2 separate regions of the Homo sapiens genome follow, and region 1 is linked to region 2. The links are contacts of gene promoters, found by promoter capture Hi-C in human tissues and cell types (Jung and others, 2019). All regions are on one chromosome and are shown on one strand. The core of a region is centred on a gene start or on the middle of the fragment in contact, and the rest is flanking DNA. Distances in the headings are between cores, read along the strand shown.

Region 1 (5,100 bases), core at 29-2,528, 460 kb after region 2:
GAGGAAAACAGCCCGGCATGGTGGCTAATGCCTGTAATCCCAGCACTCTGGCAGGCCAAGGGAGGTGGATTACTTGAAGTCACGAGTTCGAGACCAGCCTGACCAACATGGTGAAACCCCGTCCCTACTAAAAATACAAAAATCACCGGGCGTGCTGGTGCACACCTGTAATTCCAGCTACTTGGAAGGCTAAGGCAGGAAAATCACTTGAACCCATGAGTTGGAGGTTGCAGTGAGCCAAGATCGCACCATTGCACTCCAGCCTGGGCAACAAGAGCGAGACTCTATCTTAAACATAAAAAGGAAAAATGGAGGAAAACACTGGGCACGGTGGCTCACACCTGTAATCCCAGTGCTCTGGGAAGCCAAGGCGGGCAAATCACTTGGGGTCAGGAGTTCGAGACCAACCTCGCCAACATGATGAAACTTTGTCTCTACTAAAAATACAAAAATTAGCCTGGCGTGGTGGCACGTGACTGGAGTCCCAGCTACTCAAGAGGCTGAGACACGAGAACCACTTGAACCCAGAAGGCAGAAGTTGCAGTAAACAGAGATTGCACTACTGCACTCCAGCCTGGGTGACAGACCAAGACTCTGTCTTGGTGCAGGGGGGAGGGAAAAAAAAAGGCCGGAGGCAGTGGTTCACGCCTGTAATCCCAGCACTTTGGAAGGCTGAGGCAGGCGGATCACCTGAGGTCAGGAGTTCGAGACCAGCCTGGCCAACATGACGAAACGGCATCTCTACTAAATATACAAAAGTTAGCCGAGTGTGGTGGCACGTTACCTGTAATCCCAGCTACTCAGGAGGCTGAGGCAGGAGAATCGCTTGAACCCAGGAGGCAAACGTTGTAGTGAGCCAAGATTATGCCACTGCACTCCATCCTGGGGTACAGAGCGAGACTGTCTCGAAAACAAAAACAAAAACAAAACAAAAAACAAAAAAAAAGGGGGGGAGTAGTAAAGCAAAAGCTTTTAGTAACCTAAAAGGCAGTACCTTTACCAGAGGTTTAGCCTTACAGTCAAAATAAACAGGAAGAAAGTGGAGTTTATGAATCAACAGCCCTAAGAATCTGACTCTGGCATGCCTTAAGATCCTCTCCTACTACATGTTGGTGTCCTGGTGAGCATAACCTTTTTTTAATGATTCATAATAAGTTCATACAAGATCAATCCCAAAGATAAATTCTCACTGTACAAATGCACAAAGACCATAAATAGTACCAGACGGAGGCTGGATGTGGTGGCTCACGCCTCTAATCCCAGCACTTTGGGAGGCTGAGGCAGGAGGGCTGCTTGACGCCAGGAGTTTGAGACCAGCCTGGTCAACATACAGACCCCATCTCTATTTAAAAAATAAAAAGAAAAGAAAACAGGAAGCTACCAGGCTAAATGTGTAGTGACAGTGGAATGCAACAAGCCCTTTATATAGCTTACTGATTCTGGCTTTTCCTGTGATTTGTTCCTTATAATCCCAAAAGTGGCAAAACTCTTCAAAATAAATCCAGTCGATGGCTCCAATTAGTTGGCTTTGGATAAATTAGGTTCCAACAATCAAGGTTTGAATAAGGATCTGATCATATTAGATTAAGCTGAACTATGCCATCCTGTATTCTTATCAAGACTTTATGGCCAGGCACGGTGGCTCATGCCTGTAATCCCAGCACTTGGGAGGCCAAAGTGGGTGGATCACTGGAAGTCACGAGTTTGAGACCACCCTGGCCAACATGGCGAAACCCTGTCTCTACTAAAAATAAAAAAAAAGACAACTAGCTGGGCATGGTGGCAGGCACCTGTAATCCCAGCTACTCAGGAGGCTGAGGCAGGAGAATCGCTTGAACCCAGGAAGTAAAGGTTGCAGTGAGCTGAGATCGTTCCACTGCACTCCAGCAGTCTGGTAAACACACAGACAGACTCTGTCTTAAAAAAAAAAAAAAAAAAAAAAAAAGATTTATATCTAGGCAGTCATTAAGTACTTGCTGAATTGCCTCATTAGTGAAAGGGAACTTAAAGAAGTAAATATATGCATATAAATTCCTTTTAAAAAGCCAGTGAGTACCTCAACCCAGAAATTCAACTTCTATATATTTATTTGAATGAATTGATATAGAACATATTTTATAGCAATTCAGAGTACTGTTTATAGTTTTAAAAAAAGTCTCAATGTGAAGGAAGAAATTTACTACTATGGTACATTTATACATAAAAGAATGCTAAGAAGTATTTGATAATTATCTGTATTACAGGGCATTTGTAATGTGCCACATGAAAAGAACAGAATATAATACACAGCAGGATATCACCTTTGAAAAGTTCACAAGCATATGTCACAGTGTCTGGACATATTTGTATGTATTACAAAGTAAAGAATTAAGTACAAATTGCACATTAAAATGTTTGCAGTGAGTAGTAGTCACAGGATTTGGGTGATTTTGATTGATAGCTTATCTATGCTTTCTAGTTTTATTACAAATGTAATATAAAATTTAAATTTTAATCAAGTAAACAATGTTTAAGGTCCTAAAAAAAGAATTAGAAGACATAGTTCGGCTGGGTGCAGTGGCTCACACCTGTAATTCCAGCACTTTGGGAGGCCAAGGTGGGTGGATCACCTGAGGTCAGGAGTTCGAGACCAGCCTGACCAACATGGTGAAACCCTGTCTCTACTAAAATACAAAAATTAGCCAGGTGTGGTAGCAGGCACCTGTAATCTCAGCTACTTGGGAGGCTGAGGCAAGAGAATCGCTTGAACCCAGGAGGAGGAGGTTGCAGTGAGCCGAGATCGCACCATTGTACTCCAGCCTGGGCAACAAGAGTGAAACTGTCTCAAAAAAAAAAAAAAAAAAAAAAAAAAGTCATGGTTCCTATTCTATAGGAATAGGTGGGTGTGATCTACCCACCTTGGCCTCCCACAGTGCTGGAATTACAGGCATGAGCCACTGAGCCCAGCCGCACTATGTCTTCTAATTCTCTGTTTAGGACCTTAAACATTGTTTACTTGATTAAAAGTTAAATTTTATGTTATATTACATATTCCACGGGAACCAGCAATCTTTCTGGGAAGTCCGCAATTAATACTCATAGGCTAGAAGCCAAAGGGAAATGCACAATTAGCGGGGAGCGGTAGGAGGCAGTGAGTAGGAAGGCGACAGAGGCGCAGAGAAGGACCATATGCCTTCCCCACCTGACTGCTGGGCCAGAGAGCAGGCCTCACTGATCCTTTTGCCTGTGAGGTAGCTGAATACAGCCTCCACAGGGCTGTTTTTTTGGGTTAAGGAGACTTCCTCTTCAATCTGAGGTGTGGCAGTACAGGATAGCCAGCGGGAGAAAGCTCTTCTTCGCTCCAGAATTTGAATGTATTCACGGGGTTCATTTAGCTGGCTGTCAAGCTCCTTCAGGTGGCCCCATAGGGCTTCACATAGTGTCCATGTCAGGCTCCAGTGCTTCACAACTAAGGCAGGAAGAGAAAAACAATGTTACGAGACAAAGTCTTACAACAACTTCACAGAGGGCATCCTTCTAACTGTGATGTTAAAAATACATAAATTAATAGACATCTCAAACAACCACTCAAGCTGATTACCCTGAATCTGTCTCTACCTCACTCAACTTCGTCTTACAATTTCCAGAAGTACATAGTATAAATAAATGCTTGCTCATATCATGTTTCTGTGGTACTTACATAACAAATGTAACCGTTAAACAGGTTCCCCAAGCCTAATTATGGCTAGTGTCATCTCAGATGATATCTACTTTGATCAAATTCTGTCTATAAAAATCAATCTACAAAAGTACTGTTTATCATTTAAGCCACTTACAAGTATGCACTGGTAAAATAACTTACACATTTGAAAAGACAATGAGACGATTAAGTAAATACAAAGAACTGAAGGAACATAAACAAATCTCAAAACGTGTGGCATAGGACATTCTAAAACAGCCCATTTTTCAATAAACGTGATTTGCTAAACAAAATGATTTTTCTACTGTTTGAAATATTAATAAATTAGATAACCCCTTTATCAAAGTATTGATTCAGAAAAACATGGTCATGATAGATGAGAAAGGTAATCTTGAAAGAAGCCAGGAAGAGGAATTACAACAAAGCTGTTGAGAAGACCAACAGTACTTGAGCTGGATATGGAAGAATGGATAGGATTTAGAAAAGCAAGAAGGGGCCGGGCTCGATGGCTCACGCCTGTAATCCCAGCACTTTGGAAAGTCGAGGCAGGCAGATCACGAGGTCAAGAGATCGAGACAATCCTGGCCAATATGGTGAAACCCTGTCTCTACTAAGAATACAAAAATTAGCTGGGTGTGGTGGCGCGCGCCTATACTCCCAGCTACAGTGACAGAGTGAGACTCCGTCTCAAAAAAAAAAAAAAAAAAAAAGTAAAGCAAGAAGGAATGTATTTCTCTCCCTATGTTCTCTGGATTAGGTAAGAAATTCAATTTTATAAATCCAAGGATTTGACTTGCTACAGTTCTTTGTGGAAGAATTTGTACATTAATGGGTAAAAGAACAAAGTGACAAGAACATAGTGACAATTTCTTCTTGCTTGGGAATCTGCTTAGTTAAACTCAACCTCAGAAAATGACAAGCACAGGCATTTACCTACTAGACTGGTGCCAGGAAATTCATCCTCCCGTGAACATACGCTACCACCACTATTATTGGGACATCAAACATTAGAAACATAGTGTGTACTCACTTTGTGCTTCTGGTAAGTCTCCTGATGCTTCTTTAACCCAATCTGCATAGTCATGAATGACAGCAACTCCCAGATTGGGGACAATGAGAGGACACAGTTCATCCACATGGACAGTGCTGTGTTTTAATTTGAGCTCCAGAGGTGTCTGATATAATTTCATGTCTTCATCTGGCTTTCTTTGTCTCAAACTGAGTTTTTCTAAGTGAACTTTGAATGGGGACTCAGTTAGGCTACAAGAGCAAATGAGGAATAGAATAGAAAATGAACCTAAGACAGAAGCTAGGATTTTTACTTCAACCAAACCACTGTTTCTTTTTATGATTACAAACGGAATGCAAACATTTCACTGTAGTTTTAAAGAAATTTTGTTTCTTAAACTATACTGAACTTA
Region 2 (5,113 bases), core at 772-3,271:
GCTCAGAACCCCTGCTGTCTCCCTCCAGTGATAGGAGCACCCGAGACCATGCAGGGGGACGCTGCGGTGCTGGGATGCTGGGGAGAGGTGGCCCGGGGCGGGGCTATCGCTGAGCACAGAGGTGCCAGCCACCCCGTGAGGTGCTGGTCATCTCCCTCGGCTTACACCCTCAGCTCTGTGGTCTTTTGTTTGACTGGGGTGAAATGACAGCCTGAGGTTGTCCCCGCCTCAGGGGTGGGCATGGGGGTGGGGGGCTCAGTGGAGAGGAGGCCCCAGTCCCAGCACCTCAGGAAGCTGAGTCCTGCCCGTGGTCCAGTCTGAATCTCCTGCGGGTGGAGTCAAGCCTGGTTGGAGATATAGGGCTCTTCCTCCTGTCCCTGTGCTCCATCCTAGCACCCAAGGCCCCGGGAAGGCAGACCATGGGTGGGAGGTGAGGTGGTGGTGGAGGGAGCCCCACCTGGGCCAGCATCATCAGGAGGACACCCTGAGTGGGGCAGACGGGGCATCACTGCCATGGCAGGTGGGGAGATGTGGGGAGGGGGACAGATGCTCTCCTACTCAGGATAGCTTGGGGGGGTCACCAACCCTCAGGCCCAGAGGGAGGCAGAGATGAGTTTTGGGAGGTCTTAAGTCTGTTGATGGTGGACCCCCTCCCAGGCACAAGTCCCGTCCACCCATGGACGGAGCTATCTCCGGGATCTACCAGCAAGCTCCAGCCCCAAAGCAACAGGTGGGGTTTCTCCAGCCTGTGGCCCACCAAGGGCCATGGTCCCTCTCCTATCTCACCTCCTGCATGGCTGAGGAGGACACGGGCCTCATGGGTGGGCCCCAGGGAGAGAGCATGGCAGGGAAGCGATGGACATAGAGGGAGAGGGGAGAGTGCAGGAAGGGGAGAGGCATGAAGAGATGGGGGACAGAGAAGGAAACAGGGAGGAGAACAGGGGGACAAGGGGTTAGAGCCACGGAGCTCAGCCAGACCCTGCTGCTGCCCCCTCTCTGCTGTGACCCTGGAGGAGGTCTCCCTGTGGGACCATGTGCCCCACTGGGGGCTCGGGAGGGAGGCAGAGCTCTGTAGGAAGGGTCGCCACAGTTGGGTTACAGGACTGTGGGGAGTAGAGGAGTTTGTTGCATCCTTGGTGAGCAGGAGGAAGAGGAGAGGGAGGAGAAGGAGGGGAGGAGGCGGGGGAGGACGATGGAAGAGAACAGGAGGGAGGAGGAGGAGGGGGAGGAGAAGGAGGGGAGGAGGCGGGGAAGGACGATGGAACAGAAGAGGAGGGAGGCACAGCATTCCCCATCCCTGGGTGGTCCAGGAGTGGCTCTGTGTCCCGCCCAGACAGCCAATACTGAGAAGCCCTGAGGCTGAGCACCCAGGTGTGGCAGGGAGGAGAGGGCCTATCCCCGGCTGCCCCCATGACTCCCCTTGAGAGTCTGCACCTGCAGGGAACACTCTAGATCATGGAGGAAGCAAGGCAGACAGGAGACAGAGCCACCGGGGGTGGGGGGTTGGGGAGCCATCACCCAAGCTATCGTCCTCTTCCAGACTCAGCCCAGGGCTGGCTGCGGACCAGGTGGTGCGGCCCGTCAGAGGGCGGAGGCTGCAGCCTGGAGAGCTCCCTGTTGATAGCATCTGCTGTTGCCCACGCCCCACCCCTGCCACCATCTGGCCAGCAAAAGAGCCCAGAAAATGCCGAGCGCCTGGGCCGGCCCCAGAGACCCACCCTGATCCAGCCACCTGCGCTACTCACCGTTTGGGGCAGAGGACTGGCCGAGCCCTGCCTGCTCTGACCCTGGGCCTTGGATCTATCCTGGCCGCGGCCGAGGGCTCCAGTCCCCAGAGCCTCTGGGCGGCTCCTGTTCAGTGTCCACCAGCTCCTCCGAGTCACATGGCATCCAGCTGGAATGGGGCCGGTCAGGAAGGTGTCTCTCTGAGGACCCCTTCTCTTCCGCTCAGCTCTCGCCCAGGTGTGGACAGCAAGAGAAACCCTGAACCTCCCTGCAGCCTTCCAGGCAGGCCTGGCAGGCAGAGGAAACCACGAGATCTCTGGGTGGAGCCCAGCCAAGCTGTGACTTCACTGGCACTCCTGGCTCAGAGACACCAAGCCCTGTAGGGCCCTTTAGGGACCACTTCTTTCCATCTGTGCCTCGGAGGGGCCGGCTGAGAGCCGGGCTACCGGCGGAACTTGTCCTTGCAGCAAAAATGTGTTTTTCTCTCCGCAGAGCACAGGCTGCCGGCCCCAGCTCTCCAGGCAGTGTGGGACCGCGGGGAGGAGCGGGGATGTGCGTGAGGCCGTCCCTCCTGCCTCGTTCGCAGGCACAGAGTAGATGGCCGGTGTCAAGAAGCTGCCGCGCGGTCCCCGGCCGAGGAGAATCAAACACATACAGCAGCGTCAGGCTCCGGGAGACCTCGTGAACTCAGTGATTTCAAGTCCCGTTTCAGACCGTGCCTTTCCTTCCAGTGCCCTGCCTTAAGGGAGATCGCAATTGACGTGCCAAGAGAAGGAAAACAAGGTCATTTTTTGGCCTCTGTTCCTCCCCGAGTCCAGGCCCTAGCAACTCTTTTCTCATCTTTGTCTTTAGAAAAATCTCCGAGGTAGAGAAGAGTGCAGAAACAGCACGGATTTGCTCCGGAGCGTTTCCCACTCTGCGCAGTCCGCCTGACCTCTCCTCTTGCGGACCAAGTGAGAGCAAGTTTCCCGCACGTGGCCTTTGACCTGTCACTACATCAGCAGGCATCCCCCAGGGCACCGGCATCCTCCATCCCCAAAACGGAGGGGCCGCACACAGGTCGTCTGGCGTCTGTGCAATGCTGGTGTCTGATGAATGTGTCGCGCTGGTGTCTGACGTCCATGCGGGGCTGGTATCTGACAGGCAGCAGTGCCGCTTGCTGAGTTGTGTCTCAGCTTCAAATCCTCCCTTCCTAAACCAGGATCCGAGCTGCCAGGTGCCCGAGGCTCTGTAAACCATGCCTGGGCTCTGCCACCGCTCTGGGAGGCCCTACCAGTGGGTGGTCACTCAAGGATGGCCCAGGGGTGTGGGGGAAGTGCTCCCAATCGCCCCACACGTTCCAAATATCTCACCCTTCTAAGTGCCACACTCCCTCCAGTTGTCCCACAGTTCCAATAGTGCCACTCCTTTCAATTGTCCATCCCACCCTTTCATAAGTTCCATGCCTTCCACTTGTCTTACACCTTAAAGCTGTCCCACCCTTCCAAATGCCCGACCCTTCCAATTGTCCCACTCCTTCCAACTGTCCCACTCTTCCATTTGTCCCACTCTTCCATTTGTCCCACTCCTTCCAATTGTCCCACTCTTCCAATTGTCCCACTCCTTCCAATTGTCCCACTCTTCCATTTGTCCCACTCCTTCCAATTGTCCCACTCTTCCATTTGTCCCACTCCTTCCAATTGTCCCACTCTTCCAATTGTCCCACTCCTTCCAATTGTCCCACTCTTCCATTTGTCCCACTCCTTCCAATTGTCCCACTCTTCCATTTGTCCCACTCCTTCCAGTTGTCCCACCCTCCAATTATCCCACCTTCCAATTGCATTAGCCTTCCAACTGTCCCACCCTTCCAATTTTCCCACTCTTTCCAATTGTCCCAGCCTTCCAATTGCCTCATCCTTTTAATTATCCCACTCTTTTAGTTGTCCCCCTCCTTCCAATTGCCCCATTCTTTCCAATGGTCCCACTTTTTAAATTGCCCTTCCCTTGCAATTGTCCCCCTCTTTCAATTGACCCACCTTTCCAATGGTCTTACCTTCCAATTGATCCACCTTTCCAATGGTCTCACCTTCCAGTTGTCCCACTCCTTCCAGTTGTCCCACTCCTATCAATTGTACTGCCTTCCAATTGCCTCACTCTTCCAATTGTCCCACCCTTCCAATTTCCCCACAGTTTTAATTGTCCCACTCTTTCAATTGTCCCACCCTTCCAATTGTCTCACCGTTCCAATTGTCCAACCCTCCCAATTGTCCCACTCCTTCCAATTGTTCTACCTTTTTAATTGTCCTACCATTCTAGTTGTCCCACCCTTCCAACTGTCCCACTCTTCCAATTGTCCCACCCCTCCTATTGTCCCACTCCTTCCAGTTCCCCTACCCCTCCAATTGTCTGACTCTTTCCAATTAGTCCATCTTCCTTTATGTTTTCGAGCTTCACTTTCACTCCCTGTCAGAGTTGCCCCAGCAACTCTCTCTCTCTCTCTTTTTGAGACAGAATGCCACTCTGTTGGCCAGGCTGAGGTGCAGTGGCATGATCACAGCTCACTGCAGCCTCCAACTTGCAAGCTGAAGCATTTTTTCCTCAGCTTCCTGAGTAGCTGGGACTTCAGGCATGCACCAAGTGCCAGGCTACCAGAGGCTTGTCTGGCTAATTTTTAAATTTTTAACTTTATAGAGATAGGGTCTCGATACATTGCCTAGGCTTGTCTCTAGTTCCTGATCTCAAGCAATCCTCCTGCCTTGGCCTCCGAAGGTGCTGGGATTATAGCTGTGAGCCACCATGCCTGGCCCGCAGCAACTTTCTCCACCTTGTAGCAGCAGTGGACTTCTGCAGTTTTCCCAGCACTTGAAAAACCAGACCCATTGTTTCCTGTTGGAGACACTGGCCACTAACTGGCTGGGAGCCCCCTCAGGGGCCTGAATTACACTCTAGTCGTCCCCACTGGTCCTAAATTTCAATAGTTTTAACTTCCTTCCTTTGTTCCCCGTGCCCGGGGTGGCGGCTCTTTTTGCAGTTGTTTCTTCTCTAATACCTTAGTGTTCCCTTTGTACGTGTTTGGTTTTTCAGTCTCTAGTGAACAATTCTTTAAGATCATCCCTTCAAAATTATAGGTAGCTTCTGCCTACTGACTGTGTCCCTGCTGGTACTGAAAGGTCCTAGGGGAAACATGGTAATTTAGGCTTGGTTTGGTCATGTCCTTGGCCTTGACTGTCGTGATGAGTTTCTGGTCAGTGACACTGGTGATCCATGCCACTCTGTGGCTCATCATCAATCAAACAAGCACTTGTGATGGGTTATGTTGAAGTCAGTGCCTTGGGGGACCATTTGCCTATTGGACTTGATCATCATAACATTCATGGGGACCAGGAGCACTGTGGCATGTGACAGGATT

Evidence for each region. The method cuts DNA at HindIII sites, captures the fragments that hold promoters and counts their contacts. A contact is called where the count stands out against the background at its distance.
Region 1: a fragment that was not itself captured here is called in contact with the fragment with the promoter of MRGPRE in region 2 in 1 of the 25 tissues and cell types used here (small bowel).

Annotation. Positions count from the first base shown.
Region 1 is chr11:3,695,901-3,701,000 of GRCh38, forward strand. NUP98 (nucleoporin 98 and 96 precursor) reads right to left here. Exons shown (of 33, transcript NM_016320.5): 24 at 4,710-4,939; 25 at 3,182-3,448. Among named protein-coding and RNA genes, the nearest start is that of CHRNA10, 27 kb to the left of the region's middle. RefSeq lists a silencer at 535-755. The HindIII fragment of the contact is 3,702 bases long and covers 1-3,129 here.
Region 2 is chr11:3,230,396-3,235,508 of GRCh38, forward strand. MRGPRE (MAS related GPR family member E) reads right to left here and starts at 2,022. Exons shown (of 2, transcript NM_001039165.4): 1 at 1,746-2,022. The HindIII fragment of the contact is 8,659 bases long and covers 1-5,113 here.